Linked DNA regions of Homo sapiens: all the other regions are linked to region 1. Evidence: promoter capture Hi-C in 16 types of primary human blood cells and fetal thymus (Javierre and others, 2016). All regions are on one chromosome and are shown on one strand. Each heading gives the region's core, a stretch centred on a gene start or on the middle of the fragment in contact. The rest is flanking DNA. Distances are from core to core; before and after follow the strand shown.

The links. The method cuts DNA at HindIII sites, captures the fragments that hold promoters and counts their contacts. A CHiCAGO score of 5 or more calls a contact.
Region 2: a contact is called between a fragment that was not itself captured here and the fragment with the promoter of PSMA2 in region 1, in 1 of 17 cell types (non-activated CD4 T cells). The highest score is 6.2, in non-activated CD4 T cells.
Region 3: the fragment with the promoter of BLVRA here is called in contact with the fragment with the promoter of PSMA2 in region 1 in 14 of 17 cell types (total CD8 T cells, naive CD4 T cells, naive CD8 T cells and 11 more); the score reaches 18.2 in total CD8 T cells.
Region 4: a fragment that was not itself captured here is called in contact with the fragment with the promoter of PSMA2 in region 1 in 3 of 17 cell types (total CD8 T cells, activated CD4 T cells and naive CD8 T cells); the score reaches 7.9 in total CD8 T cells.
Region 5: a contact is called between a fragment that was not itself captured here and the fragment with the promoter of PSMA2 in region 1, in 3 of 17 cell types (total CD8 T cells, total CD4 T cells and naive CD4 T cells). The highest score is 6.5, in total CD8 T cells.
Region 6: a fragment that was not itself captured here is called in contact with the fragment with the promoter of PSMA2 in region 1 in 1 of 17 cell types (naive CD8 T cells); the score reaches 6.7 in naive CD8 T cells.
Region 7: a contact is called between a fragment that was not itself captured here and the fragment with the promoter of PSMA2 in region 1, in 8 of 17 cell types (total CD8 T cells, naive CD8 T cells, naive B cells and 5 more). The highest score is 15.1, in total CD8 T cells.

The regions. Positions count from the first base shown.
Region 1 is chr7:42,930,879-42,933,508 of GRCh38, forward strand. PSMA2 (proteasome 20S subunit alpha 2) reads right to left here and starts at 1,296. Exons shown (of 8, transcript NM_002787.5): 1 at 1,240-1,296. The coding sequence starts at 1,280. MRPL32 (mitochondrial ribosomal protein L32) reads left to right here and starts at 1,498. Exons shown (of 3, transcript NM_031903.3): 1 at 1,498-1,638. The coding sequence starts at 1,509. RefSeq lists an enhancer at 1,447-1,676. The HindIII fragment of the contact is 5,414 bases long and covers 1-1,596 here.
Region 2 is chr7:43,777,269-43,779,898 of GRCh38, forward strand. All of the region lies in intron 2 of BLVRA (biliverdin reductase A), which reads left to right. Among named protein-coding and RNA genes, the nearest start is that of BLVRA, 20 kb to the left of the region's middle. The HindIII fragment of the contact is 2,305 bases long and covers 134-2,438 here.
Region 3 is chr7:43,757,333-43,759,962 of GRCh38, forward strand. BLVRA (biliverdin reductase A) reads left to right here and starts at 1,348. Exons shown (of 8, transcript NM_000712.4): 1 at 1,348-1,402. It also overlaps the pseudogene LOC107986727. RefSeq lists a cis regulatory region at 1-31 and silencers at 1,053-1,442, 1,453-1,772. The HindIII fragment of the contact is 5,653 bases long and covers 1-2,630 here.
Region 4 is chr7:43,672,519-43,675,148 of GRCh38, forward strand. The region is part of intron 1 of COA1 (cytochrome c oxidase assembly factor 1); the gene reads right to left. Among named protein-coding and RNA genes, the nearest start is that of COA1, 56 kb to the right of the region's middle. RefSeq lists an enhancer at 2,173-2,317 and a cis regulatory region at 2,240-2,250. The HindIII fragment of the contact is 1,280 bases long and covers 657-1,936 here.
Region 5 is chr7:43,652,562-43,655,191 of GRCh38, forward strand. All of the region lies in intron 1 of COA1 (cytochrome c oxidase assembly factor 1), which reads right to left. Among named protein-coding and RNA genes, the nearest start is that of STK17A, 71 kb to the left of the region's middle. RefSeq lists an enhancer at 1-21. The HindIII fragment of the contact is 6,624 bases long and covers 1-2,630 here.
Region 6 is chr7:43,633,981-43,636,610 of GRCh38, forward strand. It overlaps a transcript of COA1 not described here. Among named protein-coding and RNA genes, the nearest start is that of STK17A, 52 kb to the left of the region's middle. RefSeq lists a silencer at 2,190-2,484. The HindIII fragment of the contact is 7,284 bases long and covers 1-2,630 here.
Region 7 is chr7:43,585,605-43,588,234 of GRCh38, forward strand. The region is part of intron 1 of STK17A (serine/threonine kinase 17a); the gene reads left to right. Among named protein-coding and RNA genes, the nearest start is that of STK17A, 3.8 kb to the left of the region's middle. RefSeq lists an enhancer at 1,322-1,381. The HindIII fragment of the contact is 913 bases long and covers 876-1,788 here.

The DNA.
Region 1 (2,630 bases), core at 46-2,545:
ACACTATTCTGTCATATGTAATATAATGAGACCTTTTATTGCATAATTAAATTAATCTCGTTCAAAGGTTACAAAAAAACTATTACATACACCCACTGCTTACTGAAAACTGCCAAGAGAAAAGTACTTTTGGAATTTAAGACAACGTTATGTAATGGAAAGTGTATTTTTGTTATCAGAAAAAAAACCCAGTTTGAATGTCAACTCAGCTACTCACCGATGACCTTAGACAAGTTGTTTAATTTGTACAAGCTGCGGTTAGTTCATCTGTAAGAAGCTGAGATAACATTCATTATAGCAGTGGAAAGAGATGGAGCAGGTTAAGGTTAAGTTGCACCTAACAAAGTACTCAACAAGTTAGATCCCGCCTGCCTTCAGTTGTCAGGAGTACATTTTAAGTAAACTGGGCATTACTGATCCTTAAGAAAATGGGTAAGTCAGAAAACTTCCCCAGTCAATTTTTAAAAGTCTTCGGCGATGGTTTTCTCACGTTGAGAGCCATGGTTCGCCCCAACTGTATTTTGGAAAGTAAACTTATTATTCTAATCCCCTTTTCTACAATAGAAAAACCTACAATCTTGTTTAAAGTAAACATCCCCCTCCCCGACGTTCCCCCCAGTCCACCAAAAAAAGACCAAAACTCAAACTTGCCTCGTTGTTAGGGGTTCACAAAAAAGTGATAGGGGCTTTCGGTTTTTAGTCCTTATGTTTCTAATTCGTGCATCGAAGAAACCGAAAGCGGGAGGTTTTGAAAGACACTAGTGCCAAATGGAGACCAAGACTCCGACTTAACTGTAAAGCTGAGAGTTTTCCAAGAAAAGGGAACCCCACATATTTGACCAAGATTCCAAGTTTCAGAAACCACCGCATCAGGTCTACTTGAGCCAGGAAAAAAATCCTGAGTTCGGAACGGGCCACCCAGAGATGGTTAAGCTAAAACTGCCTTCTTTTCTGGTCTCCAAAGTGAAAGCGAATCCTTGGCTATGTGCCTCACCGTCCCGCAGCCCCATGTTAACCCCGCAAAACCGCATCCCCCCGACCCTCCAGCAGCCTCCGACCAAGGAAGCTCCAGGAATCCCGGGTCGGCCTGGCAAATGACTTTGCAAAGCCGCATTTCCAACTCCATTCCCTACTGGACCCTCCAGAAGCACCAATGCCGACGTCAGGATGGGAAAAACTAAATCGACAGAGTACCAGCAACCTCGACTACGCTGAAGACCTCGAGGGCCCCTTCCATACCTGAATGTAGTCAGCGAAAAGCTGTACCCGCGCTCCGCCATCTTTACCCGAAGAGCCAAAGCACAGCCGCACACATGCGCACTGTGGCCGATTTCCTTTCATTTCCCCGCCCCTCACCTTTCCTTTACTCTCTATGATTGGAGGAGAGTCAGAGCTGCTCCAAGAGCATGCGGGGTGTTGTAGTTCTAAGAAGCGAGGCTTGCCCGATTCTGTGCCTGTGCGCATGCTGAAAGCAGGGGCGGGACCGGGGCGGTCTTCCAGCAGGGAAAATGGCGCTGGCCATGCTGGTCTTGGTGGTTTCGCCGTGGTCTGCGGCCCGGGGAGTGCTTCGAAACTACTGGGAGCGACTGCTACGGAAGCTTCCGCAGAGCCGGCCGGGCTTTCCCAGTCCTCCGTGGGGTAGGTAAAGAAGGGCTCCGTGGGAGAGGGGGCTGATGACGGGACCTCGGGCAGCGTAGCAGACGCAGCTTACACAGTTCGCCCTCAGCCCCGGTTCTGATCCGCGGCCTCATGTCGGGGACGTAGTTCGTGACATTCCCATATTAGCGAGAACAGAACGACTGTTTTTGCGCTCCCTCCACCGCAAAAAAAAAAAAAAAAAAATTCCTCTGCTTGTTCCATTCGTACACAGAATGTAACCCAAGCTTGTGTCAAAGATAAATCATAGCCAGCCAGTAAGTAAAGCGCTGAAAACAGATTTTATTCAGTAACTACTGCAGGTAAAGAGCTGAGCTCCATCCCGGTTTGTGCAGAGGTGACTTTGGGCGTTTTAAAGGGAGAATGAGCGAGGCGGGAGTGTAGGGGCTCTGTAGAGTCAGAGAAGTGTAGTATAGTGAAGTCAGTGCAAATGTGATTAGCCGGCTGTGTCTGCTAGCTCGCAGTTGTCTTAGGGAGAATTCTATCCTCCCGCAGAGACTGGGAGACAAAGGCCCTATCCTTCCTAATGATTAGATTTCGAAGGAATGGCTCTCAGGGCCTTGAAAGAAAAGCTTCCGAGTTAGTTGCAAGGGATACGTATTTACAATTATATGCCCTTTCCAGGAAATGCTCTAAGGGAGTTCGGGACCTACTATCGGGGTATGTTGGCCAAAATAAATAGGAAATTTTCCAGGCAGCGTTGAGCTTTCTCAGGCAGGCACTTTAAAGGGGGGGCCGAGGTCATCCTAGGATACAGCCTTATGCTGCTAGAAACTATGCTAGAGTTTGGTCAAGTCTGTGGAGTTCAGGGATTTGTACAGAGTTGTCCTGAGAGGACAGTTCTGCAGGTCTCACTTGGCATCAAGGCTCACCACTCTCTGGATCTGTCTTTCCTTTCCAGCCCTGCCCTCACCTCCCCTCCCGCTTCCCCTCTCCCCCCTCTCCTCTTCCCTTCCCTTCCCTCCCTTCTTTCC
Region 2 (2,630 bases), core at 36-2,535, 850 kb after region 1:
AGTGGCTGGTACCGGTTGTTCCTTTCCATGTTTAGTGCTTCCTTCAGGAGCTCTTTTAGGGCAGGCCTGGTGGTGACAAAATCTCTCAGCATTTGCTTGTCTGTAAAGTATTTTATTTCTCCTTCACTTATGAAGCTTAGTTTGGCTGGATATGAAATTCTGGGTTGAAAATTCTTTTCTTTAAGAATGTTGAATATTGGCCCCCACTCTCTTCTGGCTTGTAGAGTTTCTGCCGAGAGATCCGCTGTTAGTCTGATGGGCTTCCCTTTGTGGATAACCCGACCTTTCTCTCTGGCTGCCCTTAACATTTTTTCCTTCATTTCAACTTTGGTGAATCTGACAATTATATGTCTTGGAGTTGCTTTTCTCGAGGAGTATCTTTGTGGTGTTCTCTGTATTTCCTGAATCTGAATGTTGGCCTGCCTTGCTAGATTGGGGAAGTTCTCCTGGATAATATCCTGCAGAGTGTTTTCTAACTTCGTTCCATTCTCCCCGTCACTTTCAGGTACACCAATCAGACGTAGATTTGGTCTTTTCACATAGTCCCATATTTCTTGGAGACTTTGTTCATTTCTTTTTATTCTTCTTTCTCTAAACTTCCCTTCTCGCTTCATTTCATTCATTTCATCTTCCGTCACTGATACCCTTTCTTCCAGTTGATCGCATTGGCTCCTGAGGCTTCTGCATTCTTCACGTAGTTCTCGAGCCTTGGCTTTCAGCTCCATCAGCTCCTTTAAGCATTTCTCTGTATTGGTTATTCTAGTTATACATTCATCTAATTTTTTTTCAAAGTTTTTAACTTCTTTGCCATTGGTTTGAATTTCCTCCTGTAGCTCAGAGTAGTTTGATCATCTGAAGCCTTCTTCTCTCAACTCATCAAAGCCATTCTCCGTCCAGCTTTGTTCCGTTGCTGGTGAGGAACTGCATTCCTTTGGAGGAGGAGAGGCGCTCTGCTTTTTAGAGTTTCCAGTTTTTCTGCTCTGTTTTTTCCCCATCTTTGTGGTTTTATCTACCTTTGGTCTTTGATGATGGTGATGTACAGATGGGTTTTTGGTGTGGATGTCCTTTCTGTTTGTTAGTTTTCCTTCTAACAGACAGGACCCTCAGTTGCAGGTCTGTTGGAGTTTGCTAGAGGTCCACTCCAGACCGTTTGCCTGGGTATCAGCAGCGGTGGCTGCAGTACAGCGGTGGCTGTAGAACAGCGGATTTTCGTGAACCGCAAATGCTGCTGCCTGATCGGTCCTCTGGAAGTTTTGTCTCAGAGGAGTACCTGGCTGTGTGAGGTGTCAGTCTGCCCCTACTTGGGGGTGCCTCCCAGTTAGGCTGCTCGGGGGTCAGGGACCCACTTGAGGAGGCAGTCTGCCTGTTCTCAGATCTCCAGCTGCGTGCTGGGAGAACCACTACTCTCTTCAAAGCTGTCAGACAGGAACGTTTAAGTCTGCAGAGGTTACTGCTGTCTTTTTGTTTGTCTGTGCCCTGCCCCCAGAGGTGGAGCCTACAGAGGCAGGCAGGCCTCCTTGAGCTGTGGTGGGCCCCACCCAGTTCGAGCTTCCCGGCTGCTTTGTTTACCTAAGCAAGCCTGGGCAATGGCAGGCGCCCCTCCCCCAGCCTTGCTGCCACCTTGCAGTTTGATCTCAGACTGCTGTGCTAGCAATCAGCGAGACTCCGTGGGCATAGGACCCGCCGAGCCATGTGCAGAATATAATCTCCTGTTGTGCTGTTTTTTAAGCCTGTTGGAAAAGCGCAGTATTAGGGTGGGAGTGACCCAATTTTCCAGGTGCTGTCTGTCACCCCTTTCTTTGACTAGGAAAGGGAACTCCCTGACCCCTTGCGCTTCCCGAGTGAGGCACTGCCTCGCCCTGCTTCGGCTTGCACACGGTGCACTGCACCCACTGTCTGGCACTCCCTAGTGAGGTGAACCCGGTACCTCAGATGGAAATGCAGAAATCACCCGTCTTCTGCGTTGCTCACGCTGGGAGCTGTAGACCGGAGCTGTTCCTATTCGGCCATCTTGGCTCCACTATCCTATCTTTCTCATCCCCTGCAAGGCAGGCTTCTCAAAAAAGATACCTGCAGTTAATTTCTCCGTTTTCTCTTCCCTGGGTCATTCTCAGCCTGTTGCAGTCTGGTTTCTTTTCCCATATTATATACCGAAATGAGTCTTGTCAGGGTCAATGATGATCTCTGTAAATTTTATAAAAATTTATTTTGTAATAATGTAGACACATGTTCATAGTGTAAAACTCAGGCTACAGAATGGAAAACAGCCAAAAGTAAGTCTCCCTATTACGTTATCTTGACCAGCCCTGCCCCACTTGGGGCTGACTTCTGGTAACCACTTTCTTGTGCCTCTGACCTCCTTATCTGAAGGCCCCTGTGGCTCACCCTGTGGCTTGCTCTAATTCTTAGGATCTTTTAAGTTCTAAAGAAACAATAGAAGCTTTGCATTAATATTAAGCTTATACACCCTGGTCCAGGAGCAGTTCCATCAGTCATCAGTGATCTCTTCTGTCCTTTTTGATGGCTTTTCCTCTTAACCTTGTAAGAACATGCTAGACTTGGGTCCTCCTCTGCTGTTCCTTACATATATATATTTTATATTTTTTTTCTTTTTCTTTTTTTTTGAGATA
Region 3 (2,630 bases), core at 98-2,597, 830 kb after region 1:
GTTGTAGGGGTAACAGAGGAGCAGATCAGGCAGGGCTTTGGGTTTTACTCTGAGTTTGGGAAACCACTGGGAAGGTTTTGGGCAGAGGAGGAATTTGATCTGGCTTTCTTTTTTTAAGGTCACTCTGGCTGCTTTATGGGGACAGGCTGCAGGGATATCAGGGAAGAGACCACTGTCATGACCCAGGTAGCAGATGATGGAGGCAGAGGTAAGAAGTGGTCAGGCTCTGGGTATGCTAGGGAGATCCAACCAACAGAATTTTTGGGCCCTGGAGGTGGGATGTGAGAGAAAGGTTTCTGAAACAGCAAGGTTTCTGGCCTTGACAACTGGAAGATGGAGTTGCCATCGAGATGGTGATGCTATGGGGAAGAGATCAGGGGCACAGATTTGGATGTGTTGAGATTGAAATGTATTTTAGAGATCCAAGAGGAGGTATTAAGGAGGCAGCTGGATAGAGGAGTATGGAGTTCAGGAGGCAGGTCCCGCCTGGAGATAAAAATTCAAAGCCAAGCCTTCTCTCTTTGCACTCAACAAAACCTCACTTAAACAGGCTTGTCAGGTCATGGAATACGGTACTAGAACTCTTTGTTGGGGAAAATGCCAGTCAACCTTACCCGTCAGAACGCTGCCTTTAAGATCAGAGATCTCTTTCCTTCAGCCTAATCCACCCCTCTCCCTGTTTTCTCCCCTAGCCCCACTAGGCTAGAAGCTCCCTGGCTTCTCCCACATCAGGATCCCCAACAAACCCATTCCCAGGTGGATAAGAGCCCAGGCAGTTCCCTAGACCACGTTCACTACTTCCTAGCTACCCAAGAGCAGGACATCGCAGACACCGGCCTCCTGGAATATTCCCTCCGCTCCTCACATTTACAGGAAGGACTCAGGTAAGCCTCGGCGCCAGTTCAGTCGGCCCGGGGCCACTAAATACCAATGGGATCCAGTGGGTTCTACGTGGTGAGTGGGGGGCGGATAAGAGAGATGCGACACCCCCCGGGCCTGCCCCCCCCACGCCGGGGCCAGGCACACCGTGAGGGGGCCAGGCACACCGTGAGGGGGCCCAGCCACTTCCATACGCCCTCCGGTCGGCCGGCACCCACCACCCACCCCTCGCCACCAAGCTGGGTGCAGAGAACAGGGCAGGCGCACGGACGGTTCTTACGGCCCCAGGCGCCAGACCCAGGGCACAGAGGCCAGGATCTCACGCGCGACCGCACGAGGCCGGGACCCTCCCTCCCCTTCCGTCCACTCCCTTCCCCACCGCCTCCGGTCCCCTCCCGGTCTCCGCCACCCCGCTTCGGGGCCCCCGCCCCCCAGCCGGGCAGCCAATCGGAGCTGGGATCCCGCCCCGGTCCGCAAAGCCGGTGGCGCCCGGAGGCTGCACGGAGAGCGGTGCCCGCGTCAGGTGAGGCGCGCGCGGGGAACGGGGGTCGCGCGCAGGGGAGCGGGGGTCGCGCGCGGCTTCCATAGAGCGCTAGGGCCTGAGCTCGAAGCCCCAGGCCCGCAGGAGGCCCGGGCCCGCGGCCGCCAGAGCCGGGACGCAGCCTGGGCGCCGCCTGCCCCGCCCCGCCCCGCCCGGGCCCGGAGTGAGGACGCGGTCGGAGGCCCAGCAGCGCGGGTCCCGGCAAGGGGCTTTCTCAACTACACAAAAGACAGTCTAAAAAATTAAGTCTCCATTTCGGTTAAGACTGCCCGTAGTTTCGGTTTTTATGTAGACCCAAGAGGGCAGGCTCGGCGTCCGCGTGCCGCGTAGTCCGGCGGCTCCAGGAGCGCGAGCGGCTGGGCCCGGGCGTAGCCACCGCAGGGCCGCTAGCTCGGCCGGGACCCGCCTGGGATGCCCTGGGGTCTGCTCCGCTGGGGCGAATCCTGAGGCGCCACGCGAGGCACTTGGCCTCTCCTAGCCCCGCTTTCGTTTTTGGAAACTGGAAACTATCACTTATTTCGTAGACGGTGTGAGGGTTACATGACAGTGTTCTGTAAAGTGCACTCTACATATGAAGTGCTCAGAAATATGGCTAATAATGAGGGTATTTATAAACTACTTAAATTATAAAAAGAATGAGACATCAGACTTACAGTTTTGGATACTAATTTTTTTCACTTAACGTTCATTATGTGATAGGAGTTTTCCATCCTATTATACCGCTGTGCGATCTGATCTTGGGCACGTTAACCAACCTCTTGTTGCCTCGATTTTCTCACCTGTAAAAGTGGGGGTAATCATAATGCTTACTTAGTAGGATAGCCCTGAAGAATAAGTGACTTAGCGAACATAAATAGCTTACAATAGGGTTTTCAGCATGGGAAGGATTCAGTAAATGTTAGCTGTCATCATCACCACCTACAAAGGAAGCAATACTGTGCTGAAAGTTTTTCCATCATTAATGTAATTTCTATAGTACGATTCCCAAGAAGATATTAAAATTATGGAAATAAAGGTATTGGTATATTCCTAATTATTTCCTAAAAGATTGTATTGATAAATATGCTCATCCTTCCCTTAACGGGATGCATTCCAGAAAAACAAGTCAAATGTTAGACAAAGTATCAGAAGGGAAATTCTGTAGCCAGAGAGCTAAAAATTACAATAGGGTCTCTAATTATACTTCAACTTTTTTAGGAATAATTCTCAG
Region 4 (2,630 bases), core at 47-2,546, 740 kb after region 1:
CCCAACACTTTGGGAGGCCAAGGCGGGCAGATCACGAGTTCAAGAGATGGAGACCATCCTGGCCAACATGGTGAAACCCCATCTCTACTAAAAATACAAAAATTAGCTGGGCATGGTGGTGCACACCTGTAGTCCCAGCTACTCAGGAAGCTGAGGCAGGAGAATCACTTGAACCCAGGAGGCAGAGGTTGCAGTGAGCCAAGATCACGCCACTGCACTCCAGCCTGACAACAGAGCGAGGCTCCATCTCAAACCAAAAAAAAAAAAAAAAGAGAGAGAGACAGAAAGAAGGAAACAGACACATATACCAATGGAACAGAACAGGGAACCCAGAAATAATGCCGCACACCTACAACCATCTAATCTTTGATAAAGTTAACAAAAACAAAGAATGGGGAAAGGACTCCCTGTTCAATTAATGGTGCTGAAATAATGGGCTAGCCATATACAGAAGATTGAAACTGGACTCCTTCCTTACACCATATACAAAAATCAACTCAAGATGGACTAAAGACTTAGATGTAAAACCTAAAACTAAAAAAACTCTGGAAGATAACCTAGGAAATACATTCTGGACATAGGACACGGCAAAGATTTCATGAAGATGCCAAAGGCAATTGTAACAAAAGCAAAAATTGACAAGTGAGATCTAATTAAGCTTCAGAGCTTCTGTGCAGCAAAGAAACTATCAACAGAGTAAACAGACAACCTACAGAAGAAAATATGTGCAAATTATGCATCCAACAACGGTCTAATATCCAGAATCTATAAGCAACTTAAATCAATAAACAACCCCATTAAAAAGTGGGCAAAGGACATGAACAGACACTTTTCAAAAGAAGACATGTAAGTGGCCAAGAAGCATATGAAAAAAAGTTCCACATCACTAATCATGAGATAAATGCAAATGAAAACCACAATGAGATACCATCTCACAGCAGTGAAAATGGCTATTATTAAAAAGTCAAAAAATAACAGATGCTGGCAAGGTTGCGGAGAAAAGGGAACACTTACATACTGCTAGTAGGAATGTAAATTAGTTCAGCCATTGTGGAAAGCAGTTTGGCAATTTCTCAAAGAACGCAAAGCAGAATTACCATTTGACCCAGCAATCTCATTATTGCGTATATACCCAAAGGTATAAAAATTGCTCTTCCATAAAGACACATGCACACGTATGTTCATCACTGCACTATTCACAATAGCAAAGACATGGAATCAACCTAAATGCCCACCAATGGTGGAATGGATAAAGAAAATGTGGTATATATACACCATGGAATAATATGTAGCCATAAAAAAGAACAAGATCATGTCCTTTGCAGCAACACAGATGGACCTGGAGGCCATTATCCTAAGTGAATTAACACAGGAACAGGAAACCAAATACCACAGGTTCTCTCTTCTAAGTAGGAGCTAAACATTGGATATGTATAGACACAAAGAAAGGCACAACAGACACCAGGACCTACTTAAAGGTGGAGGGAGGGAGGGAGGAAGGTAAGGACAGAAAAACTACCTATCAGGTTCTATGCTTATTACGTAGGTGGCAAAATAATCTGTACATCCAACCCCTGTGACACAAAATCTACCTATATAACAAACCTGCACATGTACCCCTCAACCTAAAAGTTAAAAACAAAAAAGGGAGTTTACAAATAGCTTCCTAAGTAGAATTTTTAAGTCTTCTTTCTCCCCCACCCAATAGCTCCAACACTTCAGATTTACAGATTATAAACCTTCAACACATATAAATAACTAAGATGGTCTTTGATAAAAATCAAAACTATTCTTAAAATTCAACTCTGAGTAAACTTTCATTCTGTTTCATGTGTTATATTGTCCTGTTTGCCTGCAAGTAGAAACTGTGTGTTACTTGTCTCATGTTCCATATAATACAACGTTTGGCAAGTGGTAAGCATCTAATACACAACAAAGCTTACTTCTTTCTTGCTCCAAAAATGAAAATGGCTTTATAAAACTCTATAATTTTGAGGAAGAGTTGGAGAAATCACCCTAAACATATAAAACTGCAATGATATTACTGTGGGCAATGTGATGATAAACCACTCCTTGTGTTAGAAAAGAATTAACATAGCAACTTGCTTTGTCCATAATTTTAGTCTGATGTAATCCTAAAGTTGGAGGGTGTGATTTGTGACAAATGGACCTGAGTCAAGGACACGATTTCCTTGATGAATTGAGTTTATTCAGTTAGTCACAGAGGGAGTAAATATGTATGACTCAGCATCAAGACTTATCTTCAGGACTTTTAAGGACAAACTTCCTATAACTACTCTTATTCAAACCAACTCTGTCCTCTTCACAGCTGAACCATGGCACAGGTATTAGGTATTTTCAAAACAGCTGGTAAAGTTGATAGACGTGCTTGGCTGAAGGTAATTTTAAAGGTTAAAAGTCATCATCCAAGTTTGTTTTCAACAGATATTACACTTTGTGTTTTTCTTAGAAACCCTGAACACAGGAGTAGCCCTTCATTTTTTGTTCTTCCCCAACACAAACAGATGACATTTACAATCACAAATACTCTGTCAGGCTATAGAATAAATAAGTGCACTCACTGTAACACCATCACTTTCTCCTCTGCTCAAGGAAACATGTCAAAACTA
Region 5 (2,630 bases), core at 66-2,565, 720 kb after region 1:
ACTGAGCCAAGACCATGGATTTCAGAAGAATCAGCTTCTCACACAGGTAGGATGTGCTGTCCAAAAGCCATTTCCATCTGCCAGAAGCAAATCACTGCTACTCTGGGAAATAGTTTTAATCAATATATCCCCAAGTTATAATTTAAGGGAACAAGGTAAAAAAAGGAGATACAAAATCACTTAGAGACTACTGGGAGGAAATGGAGAGATGGTTCTTCCCTATTGTTGAATGGGCATGGCCCACTGCTACTATCACTCTGGGGATTACATATCATCCAGCCTTTAAAAATCGAACCGTTGTCAAGGGTCAGGGTGGGAGGGGGTGGGGGGACAGTGGAAAGATAGTACAGAGAATTATGCTTAAGACAATAGAGATGAAAAAAGTAAGGCAATATAAATTAAAATGAAAAAGAATAAGAAACAAAATCCAAAAGGCCAAAAATAAAGATTAAAACTTTGGCATTTAAGAAAAAGAAGTATGTGGCTCACACCTGTAATCCCAGCACTTTGGGAGGCCGAGGCGGGTGGATCACGAGGTCAGGAGATCGAGACCATCCTGGCTAACGTGGTGAAACCCCGTCTCTACTAAAAATACAAAAAATTAGCCAGGCATAGTGGCGGGCACCCGTAGTCCCAGCTACTCGGGAGGCTGAGGCAGGAGAATGGCGTGAACCCGGGAGGTGGAGCTTGCGGTGAGCCGAGATTGCGCCACTGCACTCCAGCCTGGGCGACAAAGCGACACTCCGTCTCAAACAAACAAAAAAAAAGTATGAACGGCAAAAACAAAACAAAAGAAGGCTAAACTTTTTTGAAGAATGAAATGTCTCAAATTTAAGGTAAGGGAGACAAAAGGATAGTACTAAAAAGCAAAATGATAAAAGCATGTGAGTAAACATGATAAAAGTTTTTTTAAGTAAAAGACTATGAAATTAAGCATTTTAAAAATTAAGTATACAAATGTTAGCGCTGACTTTTTAACCACATTTTGGCTCTGAAATCATGGAATAACTTGAATGCTTGTAGAGGAAAGGCTTACCGTAACCCTTTATTCTTAATCACGAGGCAAGCTCCCTTTGTTAAGCTGAGTTAAGAATGTTAATAAAAGGCTGTCCAACACCCTTTCTACAGGTTGGCACAAAAGTAATTGTGGTTTTCACCACTGAAAGTAATGGCGAAAACCACAATTACTTTTGCACCAACCTAATATCAGAGATGTCTGCTACTCATCCCATGAAGACCAAGACTGCCTGGAGAGAGGGTCCCTGTGCCAATGGGAAGGATTAATGATTTTTTTTAAAGATTAATAAACTGTAAAATGACGGAAGATGCCATTTAGTTTAAGAGGGTATCAAGCTACCACTTCCTGATATGACTTCAGAAATTCCATTTAAAATACCTATAAAGATACACACAAGAAAAGACAGAAAGTAGGGCCTGCTTGGAACCATAACAAGTTGCAAAAGTCTGAGGAAATTTCCACTAACCACAATGTAAGTGAAGAGAGAAAGAGAAACATGTCCATGGACAAATGAACCCTGGCAGAGATGGCCAGAAAGCCTGTGGAGAAAGGGTTCGGCCCTTCACCTCTCTCCACACCCAGCTCAAAGTTTCTGGGTTTGTAGCAATCAGGAAACAGGCTGGCCAGCCCCAAACTGGGTATGAGTCCAGCTTCCAGAGACAGCCATTGTCATTTCCCCACCCCACTCTGTTTCTATATCCATTCAGAGACTACAATCCTAAGTAAACCCAGCAGTAAGGAGAGGCAGGATTGGCAGCGGTGCAATAACAAACTCACTCTAAGAAATAAAAGAATATGGAGAAAAATATCACTTTGGGTACTTAATTGGTTGTAGAAAGACTGCCTGTTAAGAACCACACGTGATGGGAACAAAGGACACTACACGCTAAAGAAGGAAAGGGAAGAAACTCAAATAAGGAGTGATGTCAAGGAAACTCACAAACTAGAATTAACATAGCAGAAAGCCAAATTCATAATGAAGTCATATTCAGGAAGTTATTGAAAAAAAAATCCAAATGCATAATGAAAGAACAAGAATATAAAAATGAAGAGCAAGAAAATGGCAAGTGGAGATTTAGAAACTAAGATCTGTTCAACAGATCATTGCTTCTGATGTTAAATAACTAGAGTAAATGGAAGATGAGATAAAACAAAAATGATACTAAAAGAAAACTTGAAAAAAGACAAAAATGTAGAACATGTTCCAGTTCCGTTCACCAACACCTCCTGGTAAAATTTTACATACCATTTTCCCAAAAGGTATACCAACAAAGGATGACATATTGGAGTAGCCTTAGGCTTCTTCTCTGTAACTACAAATTCCTGAGAATAAAGGCCCAACCAAACTGTGTGAAGAGGAAGACATTATAAATTTGGAACAAACTCAAGATATTCTATAATCTACATAGACATCCTGAAAACATTATTTGAAAACATATTGCAACTTATTGAAAAAAAATCCAAATTCCTTAAAAATAATGGCATATTAGGACCAGCAGCATGCACTGAGACCAATTAATCCAAATAATTGTTTACTTATAAAATGAACAGAAACATCTAGTGTTTTGTTATTTTACTTTTTATTATTTTAATTATTTTTAGTATTTTAGAT
Region 6 (2,630 bases), core at 76-2,575, 700 kb after region 1:
CTGCTGTTTAACCCATCCAGTGAGATTTTTGTTTCATTTACTCTTCTCAATTCTAAAATTTCCATTTGATTCTGCCATCTTCTAAGACTTCCTATTTTTTTCATTTATTCCAAGCATGTTCATGATTGCTCACTGAATCTTTTTTTTAAATGATGGCTGCTTCAAAATCCTTGTCAGATAATTCTAAAATCTGTGTTATCTTGGTGTTGGTGTCTGTTAACTCTCTGTTCTCATTCAGGTTGACATTTGCCTGGTTCTTGGCATAAGAGCATGGCTTTCTGTTCTATTCTGCCCATTTGGGTTTGAGACGCTGGACCTTGTTTGAATCATGTTTTCGTAGGTCTACTCTGACACCACCCAAGTGGGTGACGGGGGCATGTGGTGGGGTTGATGGTTCAGGCTCACTACTGAGCCCCTTTGAATACAGGCAGGGGGAGGGGTGGCTAAGTGCAGCTTCCCGCTAGAACACGTGGGTCCCACTGATACCATGGGAGTGGGGGCAGTTGTTCCTCCTGGGTCAGGGTAAAAGTCTAAGCTCCCAACATGGCCTCCACTGACACTATGGGGGTGGGCCTCATTACCATCCTGCAGGGATAGATGTCCCAAGCTCTCTGCTGGGCTAGCTCTGACACTGCTCCAGCAGGGGATGGGGAGGCCTCATTACAACAGGCAAAGAAGGTCTAGGCTCCCCACTTGGCTTTTGCTGATGAGGCTGTGGGATTGGGGCCATGGGTTTTTCCATGGTGTTTGCATAGAGTAGGGCAGTTACTTCTTAGAGTTCTCCATCTTTCTAAGTTGCCCTGTCCTGATCCTTTGGCTAGAGACACCAGGCTTTGCTTAGCCGTTGGCTCCTATTGGTGTTTCTGGGGTACTGGTTTCTCCAGTGCCTCATATTTGCCCAATATTAGGCAAAAGAAAACCCAGGGAAATCGATGCTGTGTTATTCCTTGGGTACTGAAGTTCCTAGCCATTTGGTCTTCTCATCTTTCACAGTAGTCTGATGTTTGTTTTATGGAAGTCCAGGCTGCACTTAGTGGAGGAATAGCGAGAAGTGTGTCTACTCTTTCTTGTTTCTTCTACTTTGTTTTGAATAGTGAATTTTCTAACAATGTGGTCCTAGAAAGTAGCTTAATTTATAAAATATATGCTTATAAATATAACTTTTATATAATTTTATAAATATTGACTCAGTCAAACCACCAAGGACATGTTCTGCAATCAATGGTTTGTGTGTCTCTCCAATTGAATATTAAGTCCTAGATCTAAGCCATGTCTTAGGTTAAAATAATTCCAGGATTTCCCGATATTGAACCACCTTTGCATTCCTGGAATAAACCTCTATTAGTCACTGTTAACAGCAGGGTGCACTAGGTTAAGCTGGGGTAACAAATAGCCCCCCATCTTAGGGGCTTGTAAGGGTTTATGTCTCCCTTATGCTCCGTGTCCCACTGTGGGTCAGCTGTCCGAGCCCCCAAGCCCTTGAAGTAGCCACCATCTGGAACATTACCAATCTTAGGGACGAAGGCAAAGTGGACAGCATGAACCAAGGGCTGGCACTTAAAACTTTTACTCAGAAGTCCTGCATGCCACTTCCACTCACAAGCCACACAGTCACACCTAAGTTCAACGAGGCAGGGATGTATAATCCTCCCACAGGAAAGAGCACTGAGAGGGAGAAGCACCAACCTATTTCGTGAAAAATAATACAATATACCACTACATATCACTGGACTCAGTTCACTAATATTTTATTTTGAATATTTGCATCAACCTTCATAAGGGAGACAGGTCTATAGTTTCTCGTTTCATAAAAATAATTTGGAAGTGAAAAATTACTTTGTCATTAAGACTGCAAGGTGACTGATGTGGTAGCTCAAGTTAAAAGATAAGTGTTAAAAGATAAGTGTTACATGTTTTAGGTGTATAGTAGGGGGTCTAATTTCTGCCTTGGCGGCTTATTATTTAATAATAAAAGGTTTTTAACATACCTCATGTGATCTGATAAGTCAATTAAAAAGTTTCCTTAAAAAAATTCCTTTTGGAAATTTCCTCTAAGGGAAAAAAAACTTGCAAGATAATTTAGGAATGAAAAGTACTCTCTCCTGCAAAGTCAGATTTCACTTCGGCACCCAACCCGTGTCTTAGAGGCATGTTTTTAGTATTTTCATTTCCTACTTTTCTGCCCTGGATTATAACATGGGCGCAGTTTTTCTGTACACATTCCTGACAGTGCTTTCAACTCAGGAACTCTGCCAAAAAACATGCCTGAACCAGGAGCGCATTACTAAGGAGGTGAGAATCTTCTAGTGGGTGGAGACTGGAGGTTTTCCTATCAATCACCCTCCCACCTCTTTCTGGACCGCCCCCATCATTGAGCCTCCTGTGTAAAACAGCATCTTTTGCCCAAGCATCCCAATGAGCAGTATAAACATTGTCTCACCTGTAAGGCAAGTGATTGGTAAATATTTATTCATATTTTTCAGATGGACAAACTGAAAACGCCAGAGAGTCAAGTGGCCTAAAGCCACTTCCAAAGCTGCTTGCTTTGGGAAAACCCTTCAGAACTGCCGCTTCTTGAGCATTTCCCTGGCCTTGCTGGTGGCCAGAGGACAGAAGGAACTATTGTTAAG
Region 7 (2,630 bases), core at 82-2,581, 650 kb after region 1:
TTTTTATCGCATAGGAGTTTAATGCAGTGCTTAAGAACATTGGCTTTGGAGTCAGACAGTGTGAGATTGAATCTTGGCTCTTACTAGTTATGTGGACTTGAGTGCATTACCTAACCGTTTATTGCCTCATAGGGTTGGTGAGAGAATTAAGTAAAACACATAGCCTTAAGGCTGTGCTTAGCTTAGGGGAAGCACTCAATAAATGTAATTCATGGTGTAATTCAATAAATGTTATTATTTTAAATGTAACCCAAAAAGAAAACCTGCACAATCTCAAAAAATGCCTCTATGTCTGGCAAAAGTAATGAAGTCACAGGAACTGTTCAGAAGTCTCAGGAAGGAAAAGTTCTGTTTGTGTATAAGCAGTCCTTGTTTAAGTTTTATAAACTTTGCCTGTATTTATGGTTTTAACATAGCTAAGTGTGTCTCTGCTTCATCTTTGATAAGATAGAAAACCTATTTTTCCAACAATTAACTCTGGTTGCATTTCTGATATAACTAATTAATCTCACGCTGATAAAGAACTTGGAGAATACCCGTGTTAATAGTTTAATGATGTGGGAAGAAAAACAGATTTTTTTTTTCATTTTATTCTATGGCCTTTCATTTAGTAAAATGCAGAAGGGGTGTGATGAGTTAACTGTTCAAACAAATCATTCTTTTTCAGGTGCTACTATGTTATCACAGATCTAAAACTTTCAATGAGATGACTGTTCAAAGAGAATTTTTTAAATGGTCAACATTGATTCCAGAGTAATGACAGGATGTGATGTTGATCATTTAAGAAATGTTGCATTCTTTCATGTCTCCAACAGAGTCCATAGCAGCGTAAATAAGGGTAAATATATGATGTAAAACATTCTTTTATTGCTTGAAGCTTGACTGGTTAAGGCTTGTTACCTTTCTTTGAGTCAGGATGTATGCCAATGTAAACCACATTAATGATTTCGTTACTGGGGCACACAAGAGAAATGACCTTGGGTTCTGATAATTTTTTCGTGTTGATTTCCCTTGAGTTTATTGATAATATAGAAACAGAAAGATGTTTCAAGGAACTTAAAGATAACACCAGTTTCATAGCAAATGATTTGCCTTACATTTGTTTTCATTATCTAGTCCTCAACTTTAATGTTTTTAATATACCGATAAATTTTTTCTTAAGAAAAAAATATTTTAAGCCAAAAGAACACTTTAAAAATATTAGTACATGCTAATAGTTGGATTTTCCTAAGGAAAAAAGTTACAAATACAAGTTCCCATCTGAAACAGGTACTTTATAATGTGCAGGCCTTACAGTTTTACAAGTGCTTTCACATGCATTATCTCATTGATTCTCACCACAAGCCTGTTTGGAAAGCCCCATTTTTCAGATGAGAAAACAAAGACAGATTTAAAAGTCTTGTGAGAGATAACAGAGCTGGGACTCCTGACTTTGAAATCATTCCCATTACACCACACATGTTTTTCAAAGAATAATTTGTAGTCTGTATCTTATGACTAAAGCAATTTCCTGTCATTTTAATGAAATGATATGTTTTTATTGTTTTTTGTTTTTTTTTTTTTTTTTTGAGATGGAGTCTCGCTCTGTCGCCCAGGCTAGAGTGCAGTGGCGCGATCTCAGCTCACCGCAAGACCCGCCTCCTGGGTTCACGCCATTCTCCTGCCTCAGCCTCCCGAGTAGCTGGGACTATAGGCGCCTGCCACCATGCCTGGCTAATTTTTTGTATTTTTAGTAGAGACAGGGGAAAGGATCTGTTAATGAGTTCTACATTGGAACAAACATGACCAAGCTTCAGTGTCATATAGTTAAGTTCCCACTGGGGCCTTAAAGTAAATTAGGGATGTCCTATCTCATTCTCCTCAGAGCAGTCAGGGGTAATAGGGACAAGAGAGGATTTTTATCAGAGAATAAGAGAATATTCAAACTGAAAGGGGACTCTGGGTGGGTATTTTGGGGACTGTGTGTCCTTACCTAGATTGATGGCTGTAGGTAATAGCTTCAGTTTTTGTATCTGACAAGAACTTAAGCGTGTGTCATAAGTTATCATTTTTTAACAAATAAAGACCTTTATTAAGTAATATCCATGCAGAAATTGCTTTGTTTTAACACAGATGTTATTTAAGATTTCTTGACAGCTAGTCATTAGTTTGAAGAATTTTATTTACAAACAGTTTTGGGTAATCTGATACTTTGGATAGATAAAAGAAAATTGGCCATATTTGTGGTTCAACAATAAAGTTACTTGGAAAGTATGGCTTCTGCTCTTAGGCAGGTACTTTAAGTCAGTCAGCTGTTTAATTTTGAAAAGTTCATGCTTCAAATGTTAAAATCTTAATTTAAAATACATGAATGTAAGAATTTGAATTTTAATCTTTTCATAAAACCATAGATGACACAATTTTATAAAATATGATTATTGAACCAAATGCATTAGAAAGCTAAGTAGCTATAGTCACCTCTTCAGGTAAGTAAGAAGTTAACTAGATTTCTTGAGAGAATTTACACATTATGTAGACTTAATAGCTCACCTCCAGAACTCCTGTTCTGATATTTTTTTTAAATTATTATCATTGGTTATATCATAGATCTGAAATTAATGCCAAAAACAATAAAAATAGCCACTGATTAT